2 separate regions of the Homo sapiens genome follow, and region 1 is linked to region 2. Evidence: promoter capture Hi-C in human tissues and cell types (Jung and others, 2019). All regions are on one chromosome and are shown on one strand. The core of a region is centred on a gene start or on the middle of the fragment in contact, and the rest is flanking DNA. Distances in the headings are between cores, read along the strand shown. Region 1 overlaps MAP2K5 (mitogen-activated protein kinase kinase 5). Region 2 holds the start of C15orf61 (chromosome 15 open reading frame 61).

What was found. The method cuts DNA at HindIII sites, captures the fragments that hold promoters and counts their contacts. A contact is called where the count stands out against the background at its distance.
Region 1: a contact is called between a fragment that was not itself captured here and the fragment with the promoter of C15orf61 in region 2, in 5 of the 25 tissues and cell types used here (IMR-90 fibroblasts, bladder, liver and 2 more).

The regions. Positions count from the first base shown.
Region 1 is chr15:67,599,852-67,605,813 of GRCh38, reverse strand. MAP2K5 (mitogen-activated protein kinase kinase 5) reads right to left here. Exons shown (of 22, transcript NM_145160.3): 8 at 5,065-5,129. Among named protein-coding and RNA genes, the nearest start is that of MAP2K5, 60 kb to the right of the region's middle. The HindIII fragment of the contact is 8,159 bases long and covers 1-5,962 here.
Region 2 is chr15:67,519,628-67,525,777 of GRCh38, reverse strand. It overlaps C15orf61 (chromosome 15 open reading frame 61), which reads right to left and starts at 4,647. Exons shown (of 2, transcript NM_001143936.2): 1 at 4,184-4,647. The coding sequence starts at 4,529. IQCH-AS1 (IQCH antisense RNA 1) reads left to right here and starts at 3,934. Exons shown (of 6, transcript NR_040052.1): 1 at 3,934-4,259. RefSeq lists enhancers at 4,221-4,340, 4,981-5,060 and a silencer at 4,451-4,800. The HindIII fragment of the contact is 11,118 bases long and covers 78-6,150 here.

The DNA.
Region 1 (5,962 bases), core at 1,961-4,460, 81 kb before region 2:
CTCATTCTCATTTTAGCCAAGACGTACCAAGGGTCTATTTTATCCTTAAAACTGTGCTGGGTACATGAGAAAACACAAGAAAACAAAATGGACTCTGCTTGACCTTGAGACAACACTGCCTGGGGGAAGAACACCAAGCAAAAAGAAAAGAAATGCTGTATAGAAATCTGGCTTTGCTGCTGAATGGCCACATGATAAGCCCCAGTTTTTTCAGTGGTAAAATGGGCTTAACCCAGCTGTCCTATAGCAATCTGAAAATAAATTAGGATTAAAAATACTTTGAAACTTTAAAAAATCATTGTATTTAAGATAATACATAAGATATCATGATTCATTAAGCAACTACAGAATAGAAGAAAATACAGAAGTATAATGTGTATAATATAAAGGCAGAATTTCTCAAAGTTAGTTCAACACAACTATAATTCTGTGAGATGTTTATCAAAAAGAGTCCCATGGCTGGCTGGGGGTGGTGATTCACGCCTATAATCCCAGCACTTTGGGAGGCCAAGGCAGGTGGATCATGACGTCAGGAGATCCAGACCATCCTGGCCAACATGGTGAAACCCCATCCCTACTAAAATACAGAAAATTAGCTGGGCATGGTGGTACATGCCTGTAATCCCAGCTACTCTAGGGAGGCTGAGGCAGGAGAATCACTTGAACCCGGGAGGCAGAGGTTGCAGTGAGACGAGATCTTTCCACTGCACTCCAGCCTGGCGACAGAGCGAGACTCTGTCTCAAAAAAAAAAAAGAAAAGAGTCCCATGGCCAAGTCAAGGTAGGAAGTACAAAATGTAAATAATTTTTCTATTATTAGTACTACCATTACCAGTAGTTAACATTTAATAAGTGTCAGTCATAGCGCTAAGCCTTTTACGGATCTTCTCATTTAACCTCACAACAACCTAGATACTATTAATTTTTTTTTCTTGTTCTGTTGCCAGGCTAGAGTACAGTGCCACAATCTCGGCTCACTGCAACCTCCACCTCCCGGGTTCAAGCTATTCTCCTGCCCCAGCCTCCCGAGTAGCTGGGACTACAGGCGCCCACCACCATGCCCAGCTAATTTTTATATTTTTAGTAGAGTCGGGGTTTCACTATGTTGGCCAGGATGGTCTCAATCTCTTGACCTCGTGATCCACCTGCCTCGGCCTCCCAAAGTGCTGGGATTACAGACGTGAGCCACCGCACCCCGCCCAACCTAGATACTATTATTATCCCCATCTTGCAGATGGGAAAACTGAGGCATAAGACATTATATAACTTGCCAAAGGTTACGTAGCTAATTAGTGACAGAGGCAGGATTCAAACTTAGAGCCCTCACACTTAACCACAACACATACTATTCTCTACTTTCTCAAAGTTTTTGAAATTCATTATGAATCTCTCAGAGGGAAATAGAACATGTGTCTTTCCTGAATTTATTTTTTTGGAGCAACTTGCAGCACTTTAGGAAATGAGGCAACAAGGAAAATACATTCATTATCTTTTCCTAAACTTTTCTTCTTCCTAGGCTTGGGCCATACTTTAAGGTATTTCCTTTATGTTCCATGTAGCCCAAATTAGTAATCCAAGAAATACCAACTTAAAATTACCTGCCTAAGTCACTCTCATAATATAGAGCACAGCTCGTCAGGAGACAGCACACAGAATTCACATTACCATTTGGTTTAAATGTCTGGGGCCAGAATTTCATATTGTACAACTGTGAAGGATATCTACACTTAAAGGAGGAAAATGTATCAACTGTTAAATCATATACATTGTAATTACACGATTATAATATCCCTTGAAATTCCCAAAATTCCATCAAGTGAAGTGAATAAGACTGCATTATTAAACTTTTGCTTTGCACTTATTAGCTTTATTACACTTTAAAGAAAAAAATGGAATAAGCCTATTAGGCAGTTTTGTTACCAATGAGTGGATTTTCCAATATTTTCTTCATCTAGTTTATGTAGCATAGCCTATAATGTAATCATGCTGTTTGAAAAACCATATTTTTTATCATCAACACCATTAAGGTGAACTTAGTGTAGAAGAAACTCAATCATAACACATCAAACACTTAGTTTTATAGAGACTTTAGTAAAGTGGATCCTCATTTATCAATGATTATATCATTTCTTTGCACTGTACTAAAAGCCAGGGATATAAGAACAATAATACAAGCTGAAGCCTGAGCAAAAATGATGCCCAATGATCAATGACAAGCGGTTATGCAATTTGGTATCTTCACCGCCCCTCTCAAGAATCACACAGGCAATAAGGTAAATGAAATTTCTTTTTATAAGAAATCTACTATATAAGAATGAAAATTATCAGGATACTGTCATTCACCATCTATAAGCAATCCTGTCAAAAACATTACATCTTACAACACTCACAGTGAGCATTAGCAACGGTAGCTAAATGAGCTCTTAGGATAAATTCCTAACGTTACACACAGCATTCTAGCAAATTAAAAAACTTGTGGCAAGGACATATAGAAGAATGGTCCCTTTGACATAGTAGCCCTAATTAAAGGAGAAGTTCTAGCCATGCTTCTTAGCTAAAAACAACATTAACAGAGTGATGGGGGAGTTACTGTTTAATGGGTGCAGAGTTTCGATTACACAAGACGAAGAGTTCTGTGGATGAATGGTGTTAACAGTTGCCAACAATGTGAATGTACTTAATGCCACTAACTATACACTTAAATATGGTTAAAATGTTAACTTGAGTTATGTGTATTTCACCACAATTTAAAATAACAATTTTAAAAACAACATTAACATAATTTCATGTTGTAATTTTCCCTTGGGGGATGGGCATGTTTTTTCCACTTCTCTGTATACTCCCTCTTTTAAAAAATAAACCTGGCCAGGTCTGGTGGCTCACTCCTGTAATCCCAGCACTTTGGGAGGCCAAGGCAGGTGAATCACGAGGTCAGGAGCTCGAGACCAGTCTGGCCAATATAGTGAAACCCCATCTCTACTAAAAATACAAAAATTAGCTGGGCATGGTGGCGTACGCCTGTAATCCCAACTGCTTGGGAGGCTGAGGCAGGAGAATCCTGGGAGGCAGAGGTTGCACTGAGCTGAGATCGTGCCACTGCACTCCAGCCTGGGCAACAGAGCGAGACTCCATCTCAAAATAAACAAACCAACCAACAAACAAACAAGCCTATGTTTTAAAATAAAGGATTAAAATGTCAACATCTAGAATATTATGTCTCGTAAAAATTCTGCTGGGGTTTCATGGTCTTATGCTTCTTCCCTTCTAGAAATAAGCTAGGAAAATAAATTCACAATAGACCTTCAATTAATATAAAACTAAAGGTTTGGTGAAATAACACAGATAAGTAGGTTAGGAGTCTAAATAAACATTTTTAAATTCCATTTGAAGCAAATAAAAGGAATACAAAGAGTTGCCAGAAATCTTTCCTGTTTTATTATATTTGGCTATCAGCATAAAGGCATTAAGAAGAAAGGTTCAAGCTTTGAAAAGTGCTCCCTCCAGGGAACTCAATAGAAGCAAATCAGAGTATACATGTTCCTTCTTCCTCTTTCCTTTCTATGGGTACCTGAACTTAAGTACCTTCAGAACACAGGAAAAATCTAAGTCAGATCGTAAGGAAGAGAAGACTAAGATGAAAAGATACCGTTTATAGTGGAGGTTGCGTGGGAAGGAACGCTAGTATGATCCAGGGAAAGAGAATAGTAGCCGCAAAAATCATTAGACACATTGGACCTCAATTTTAAGGGCCAGGCCCAAGGCCCAAGGAACATGTAAGAAACATGTTATTATTTATTTCTCTGAATTATCATAGTGGAAGAACTTCATTTTCAGACCAACTGTTCACAATACTCAGTCATCTGCAGGAAAAAACAATCCAAACATGTGAACATAAGTTCTTAAAGGACTATATTCAGGAGAAAGGACTCACATCTTGGCTGTATCTGCAAAGGGCACTGAAGCCCTGAATGGGTGACTGGATCAGATTACTTCAAAAGAGCTTCTAAGCCTGAGAAATCAAATTCTATACCAAGGCTGCATCAATGAGTAGGGGATGTTCTGGGATTTTTAGGATGTGAACCTTCATGGTCATAGAATAGGGCAATTTTTATGTGTATTCATGTGGTTAGTCAGAACTTAAAATTCTAAGAACATGGGTAACCAATTAGAAAATAAGTTAATTATTTTACAACTCTGGAAATACATATTAATATCAATGTTAAAGTATCTGTGGTTGTGATCTAATATCACAACCATAATGTGATGCAGGATTAGTGTATACATGGAAAACCAGCTCTCTGGAGGAAAGTTTTATTATTCCCTCAGGGCTTTCTTACAGAGTATGGATTTTTTAATTCCTAGTGGAATATTTTTCATACACCATTGCAGACTATTAAGTACCAGATATTACATTATGTAGTTTAAACTTTGCACTACTGCATGAGAAGACCTCCCTGTCGGAGAACTATTTTTTATGGCTAGCATTTTTTAAGATGAAAATGAACATTCCTTTGGGGTAAGATCACTGCAACTGGAATTTGGGAGAACTTTATAACTTAACATATTCATCAATGTGTAGAAATTATCTCAGGGGAGTAGGGTGAGGAGAGAAGAAAATACAACAGGAAGAAGGCTTTTTAATAACTTATAGTGTTGACACAGGGCAAAGCAATGGTATTTATAAGGTCTGGCTTCCACTGGGCATAACTGTAAACAGGCAGGGGACTAGCGTAGGGTACTAGCAAGTTAAAAAATAATAATAATAGTGTTAAAAAGCAAAGGAAAAAAATGCATTAAACTTCAGGCCAGTTAAAGGTACACTTACTAATGGTGGACTATTAACTACACACCCAGGAGAGTTGCAGACTCGGAAATATTAAAAAGGCAATATAAATGCACTTTCCAGGCAATTCTTGAGAAAATAGATGTCTTGCAGAATTTTGGAGTCAAATATGGAAATAAAATCTAAGTGTTAGTGGTCATTTAAAAATCTTTGCCACAGAGAACTTGGATACTCAGTATTTGGAAAAGCGGATAGAAAGTTTAAACAAAATTGACTACTCACTTGTAGACTGTGCCTCCGTTGCCATGACCAAGAGTGTCCCGATATCGTATGTCTTGTTCATTCATCTCCACAAGAAAGAAAGAAAAACAAAAAGGGTGTCATGCTGTGGATGGAAATGTCAAGGAAAAGCAACTCTGGGCCATAAACAACAAGCAGTCTGGGTCATTTCAAGTTCAGCTGCAAAAACGAGAAGATCAATACAACGTTTGCTGTCCAATTTATAAAAGACGATACCAAGGGACGAAGTGATGGAAAGTTTAATGACAATTTGTTTGCCTGGGTCATTTCATTAAAGTTTGATAAAAGGTGTCAAAATGGAATGATACAACATAGCTCAAAAGGGTCAGGTCAGAGATACTGATAAGAAAACAGTCTCCAGTACTGCATATAACCAATGCCAAAGAGCACTGCACATAACCAAAGTCAAACTTAGGAAGACAATACACACACACACTCAGTAATCTAATGCATGATCTGTAAATAAATCAGCCCTAGAAAACTCCTCAGATGACCCCCATAATTAACATTTAACAAACTAAATAATGTTTATGATTTTCCTAGAGTAGATATAGCTTTTCTTTGCAAATAACAAACTAGTATACAGCAATAATTAGGCAGAAATCATATTATGAAGATGGAAAAGCACGAAATCAATGCACTTAAGATGCACATATAGTCGAATATTATAATACATAAAGGAAAAATACATAGGCATGTAATTTTTATTAAAGTCATTTTCGTAACTTTATATATAAGTTTGCATGTTTTTCAAGGTTCTATAAAACCTATTATACCACAAATAACTACTCTCATTTGTATTATGAATAGTAGGTGCCCATAAAATAATGTTTTAGAGTTTAGAGAGCTCCCTATACAATTATTTATCAAATGACTTTAA
Region 2 (6,150 bases), core at 3,398-5,897:
CTCCGAAAGTGCTGGGATTACAGGTGTGAGCCACCGCGCCCGGCCAACATTACTGTTCTTTAAGTTAGTAGTAACACTAATGGTTGAAGTAATTTTTGTACAACTTAAAAGAAGCTCGGTCAAAGAGCTGTCTTTAAAATCTAAAGCAAAACCTAACTCCAAGTAAGATTTCAGTACAACAGGCATGAGAAAAAAAACTATTATTAGCATTTTTTCAATTGATCTGAAAACAACCTCATTTCAACCAATTTGAAATAGATATATAGTAGACTCCAACATGTGTTTCTTCTTTGGAATTGATAAGATTTTGCTGCTTTGAGATTAGTTGCCATTTGTGATACATGAAACTAAACACACTATCCAGAGATATGTATTAAGCACTCACATGCATATAAGACTGTTGGCACAAAACAAACTTTCACAATTCCTATCTTTTTAAAGGTACTTATTTAAAATTAATGACTACTAACATATTAAAAACATATGTAATAAAACCATAGGCACATGAATCAATAACAAATACTGTATGCTCTGGACAAGCATTAATTTTATGCTCTTATGTGGGAAATGGGCAGAAAGTGACACTTTAAAAGGATAGCTGTACATTTGGAAAATCACTTTCTTTCTAGTAATAAAGAACGCGGCTGGGCACTGTGGCTCACGCCTGTAATCCCAGCACTTTGGGAGGCCGAAGCAGGCGGATCACCTGAGGTTGGGAGTTCGAGACCAGCCTGACCAACATGGAGAAACCCCGTCTCTACAAAAAATACAAAATTAGCTGGGCGTGATGGCGCATGCCTATAATCCCAGCCACTCAGGAGGCTGAGGCAGGAGAATTGCTTGAGCCCAGGAGGCAGAGGTTGCACTGAGCCGAGATCACACCACTGCACTCCAGCCTGGCGACAGAGGGAGACTCCATCTCAAAAAAAAAAAAAAAAAACAAACAAAAAAGCAACACATGCTCTGGACTAATCATATTGCTAAATTTTGGTCTTATTTTTCTGCAAGAATATATTTGCTGTGTTAAGCTCTTTTTGAGTGTGTTTGCTGAACCACTTTGTGCTTACTCCCTGAAGCTTCATTCCAGCCACTGTGATGCCAGAGATTAATCAGGAGAAGCATCACATCACTAGCTGGTAATGAGAAGGGGAAAAAAATGCCCATTCAGGCTGGCATCTCTCTATTTTTAGGAATATACTGGGTCACAGTTTGTCACCATCACAGGGTTCCCTGGAACTCCCATGAAACCTTTTATAGTGTATCACCTTCTTTGCCCTGATAATGTCCAAAAGAATCTCTGAATACCTCAAGGGAATGTCATAAAAAAATCCACAAAAACTAGAATAATAAAGCTACTTATAAATCATTTAACCACAAAGAAAAAAAAAGGCAAGTGGCTCAGGGGTGGGAGGTAGAAAAAGAAGAATATGAACAAGCTAGGCAGAAATGAGAGTGAAGTATAGGGAGTAGTTGAAATAAAAAATAAATTTAAAATGCAATATCACAACTTCAAAGCTGAAAATCAATGGAGTGAGGAAGAAAAAAAATAGGCTCTAGAAGCAATTACTAATTTTCTAAGCATACTGAGACTAAAATACATAAAATAGGCCTCTTAAACCAAGGCTAAGTATATAAATTTAAGGAATACCTGGTGACACTGACAATTTTCTTTTATAGTATTTATCATAGTTTTCAGTTAACATATTGATTTAAAAAATTCATACTTTTGAAAAATCACAAATACAGAAATAAACGGTCAATATATTTTCAGCTAAAATCAAGGGCTGATCAAAGATTACTAGCTTAATAACTATATTATGTCTTATTAAAAAATAACCAGCAACCATTAGCAGTGATGCTGTTTGACAGGAGATGGAGTTATGATCTGAGTCAGAAATTCTGTATTTTTTTCCCCTTGCTGTCTGTTTATTTAATGCAGTCAGACTAATACTCAAAATGGGAAGGTTTGCCACCTATATAACTTATATATTACAAAATCTTTGTAGCACACATGCTTTGAAGTCTATAAGATTCTATGAAAAATTCAATTTTTTCTGAAAAATTAAATTTATATCTGAAACATGTAACATCAAAAGAACCTCCAAATCAGTTCTTTGCATAATAATTCACTTTGAGTCAGCTGAACAGTAGGTAAACCACTGTCAAATTAAGCACTTTAAAAAATTAGAATTCCTCAGTAAATCTCATTCATTCCAATGGTAAGTTGCTTTTCTTAAATCTCAATCTACTTCTCAGCAGGATACCTAGACTGGTAAACCATCAGTAAAATGTCAGCTTCCATTGAAGGGAAGACGGAGGAGAAAAGGAGCAAATGGGTAAACAGAAATCTTTATTATTTACAAAATGGAAAAATGAATTTGGAAGGGAAGAAGAGGAACAAAATCCTAAGTATAATATTAATAGGATATGTACTTTATCACCCAGAGAGACGATTGTACCTCACAGAATAGGAAAGGACCTATTATCTAATTCACATCCCCTCTACCTTCAGACAAAAATTAAAAATAAACGTTACCAGATGTGTTCACCACTTTAAAATATTTTTTAATTCCCTTTATCAGTATATCCCAATTTGTATTAAAGCATGCATGAGCAAAAAGTTGTCCTTTTTGCTTAACTTAGAACTCTTACTCCCATTTTAGCAGGATTTTTAGAATGTCCAAAAGACCATACAGACCATTAAATCACTCTCCCACATTAATAAACAAAACAAAACAAAAAACACTACAACTGTTGTTTCTTTCAACTTTAAAAGGTTTTACTTTTCTATGTGTGGAATGTTCTGAGTATCCACTTTTTTTGGATGTCTTAATCTCTAAATCTAAAAGAGAGGCCCCTAATCATTAAGGTGCTCTTAAACAAAATGTCAACACTAAAAATGTGACTTTAAAGGAAAAAAAGGCATTTGGCTCATGGTTTACCTATAACTCTCCCGTTATGCTTTTCCTAACCTATTATTCTTTAGGGAAGAATGATTTCTTACTTATGAAAAATGCTAAAATAAACTTATACTTCTCGAATCTAGTTAACACTCCAGTCTTTCCAAATAATTTCGAATTGAATTTCCTAAGTCACCTCACCCTTCAACTTCAACCAACCTCCAAAGTAGTGGGCATGCTCTATACAGTCCATCAGCCAAATAATAAGAGGCATTTTTAAAGGATAACACGTTGCTAAACAATTATCTCCTTACAGGACAGTCCAGTGGAGTAACGGCTCAAAAAGCCCACGACTGACATATGTGTTATTATAAGCACAAATACACAGACTATTTTTAACCTTAATGGACGATCAGATTATGTAATAGTATTAGTAGTACGGCTGCGCAGGGTTTAGTTTTAATCCTGGCTTTAAAAACCTGGCTGGGTAACATGGTTCATTCAGCTCCATGGCTAGATTTTGAATCACTGAAATCTAGATTGATTTTATGCCAGCTATTAGTAAGTTCAAAACATCTTGAGGCCTTCTGTTTTCCCCTGACCTATAAAAGATACACCCATGTCCATGTTCGTACCTCCCTCTTCTGTCATTAAACCAAAAGAAAATAAACACCTAGTGACAGTAAACATCCTCAGGGCGTCTCCATGAAAATATACAAATATTAAAGATCTTTAAAAATCTTTTAGGCCTAGCACCTCAGGAAGCTGTTATGTCTGGTGAAAACCTTTGGTGCTTTTAGTAAAACGAACTTGCCGGGAATTCATACAAAGAAAACAAAAGAAACTTAAAAGAGTAGTTCCAGTTATTGCAACATAAACGCAGCTGCAAAGTGATGTTCACGGGAATGAGTCCTGCCATGCAGTAGGACGGATGTCAACTTCAGAGCCACTTTCTAGGGGGCGTTTCCTGACGCCCCCTGGCTTACTGCCCAGGCCAGGGGTCTACTCTGGTTAACATGGGCAGGACAGGAGGGCGACCCGCCCCTCCCTAGGCCCGAGGACGCGCCCGCAGCAGGCGAACGGCTTCGGGTGCCAGGAGCTCAGCAAGCTGGGGACCCCCTGGGCGAGGAGTACAAAGGACCCCAGGCGAAGCCGGCGCCGGGAGGCAGAGCTGACTCCCGCGGGACTCTACCGGCCTGCGAGCGTTCGTCACGTGCTCGGTGGCTGAGGGGCCGTCCCGGCCGGGCGGGCTTCACCGCGTGGGCGCGGCAGTCGCCACTCACCGAGGTTGACGACCTTGAGCGCCGTGAAGAAGCGGTTCTGCCGGGCCAGGTCCTGCCAGGGAGCCTTGGAGCAGTGGTACTTGATGAAGGGGAAGCAGCCGGTGCGCAGGACGTGGTAGTTGGCGCCCTGCACCGGCCAGTTGAAGTGCGAGAGGCCGAACTGGTCGTTGCGGACGGCGCTGTAGGGCACGCAGAAGGAGGTCCAGTGCGGCAGGCGCCGCTGCAGCAGATGCCGCGTCAGCACCTCCGAGGCGCTGGGCTTGGGGCGGGCGGCGGCGCGCGAGGCCCACGGCCTACACAGCAGCAGGCGGAGCGCGACCTCGTGGGCCCTCCTCAGGGCCTCCATGGCCCGCCGCGCCGGGGACGCAGGCTGGTGTCCGCAGCCGCTGGCGCGCAAGCGCGCCCCCGGGCGAGCGCCGGGAAGGCCAACCGGCGCCGCGCGGGTGCCCGAGAGCCCCCGGTGTGCGGCGGCGCGTGCGCACAGCGGCCCCGTGGCCTCCCGCTGGGGGTGGAGTCCGGGGGATGGGAAGCGTGAGCTGCGCGAGGCGGAGGGTCACCTGCGTCAAGGAGCTGGTTTTGAGTGGCCAGGTGTGACCTCACGCCGTCATTAGTAACTCGGGCAGGGGAGGGATTCGGGGAGGTCTCATCAATTTGGGCCTGAGGAAAATTCAGGTGGAAGACAATTAAATAACTAACCACCTCCGCAAGGTGCAGAACTCAAACCCAAGTCTCCCTCCCACGCCCTGGGCTCCAGGGAAGCCCTTGGGTGTTGTTGTTGAAACAGGACGAGGCGTGACCCCGGGTCTGCGTTGTTTGGTAAGGCCGGGAGCACTTTTGTGTGTAGGTCCTCGCTGTCGGGTTCACTGTTTAAAATTAGTCCCAGAGATTTCAAAATCAAAAGTTTATTTAAAAACCTCACGTGTCTCAGTGCAGCGTCCGAACACACAAAGGCACCTCCCTCTAAGAACCTGGTAGACGGACCAGGAGCCTCTTATCGAGCTTTGTGGACCTCAGTCACCCATTACCAATCCATTACTTTCGGAAAAGCTTTGCTCAAACTTTGCGGCCTCTTGAGGCAGTAACTTACGGACAAAACTGCTTTTAGAAAAGGATTTCCTCTTTTGTCCTAAACTCATTTTGTTTGGAGAGGCCATACATAAACAAGATGATGTGTCTGAAACCACCTTATGTAAATGAGGTACAGTAATTACGCGTTAAGCATCATATAACAATTACTATCGTTGCTAAAAACTCAAGGGGGATGTAGGATAGTATGGCGAAATTTTATATTCCCCAGTTTTTTGTTTTGTTTTGTTTTGTTTTTTTGAGACGGAGTCTCACTCTGTTGCCCAGGCTGGAGTGCAGTGGTGCAATCTCAGCTCACTGCAACCTCTGCCTCCCAGGTTCAAGTGATTTTCCTGCCTCAGCCTCCCGAGTGGCTGGGATTACAGGCGTGCACCACCACGCCTGGCTAATTTTTGTATTTTTAATAGAGACGGGGTTTCACCATGTTGGCCAGGCTGGTCTCAAACTCATGACCTCGTGATCCACCTGCCTCGGCCTCCCAAAGTGCTGGGATTACAGGCGTGAGCCACTGCACCAGGCCTATTCCCCAGTTTTTATTGAACATTGAGCACCCACCAACATATGCCGAATCTTGAACTTTACCTTACAGAATTTGAAGTTGAACTTTACCTTATAGAACTTGAACTTTATAGAATTTCTTTTTCTTTTCTTTTTTTTAGAAAGGATCTCACTGTTGTCTAGGCTGGAGTGCAGCTGCTCGATCTCGGCTCACTGCAACTTCTGCCTCCTGGGCTCAAGAGATCCTCCCACCCTCAGCCTCCCAAGTAGCTGGGACTGCAGGTGTGTGCCACCTACACTCGGCTGCTTTTTTTGGTATTTTTTGTAGAGGTGGAATTTTGCCATGTTGCCCAGGCTGGTCTTGAACACTTGGGCTCAAGTGA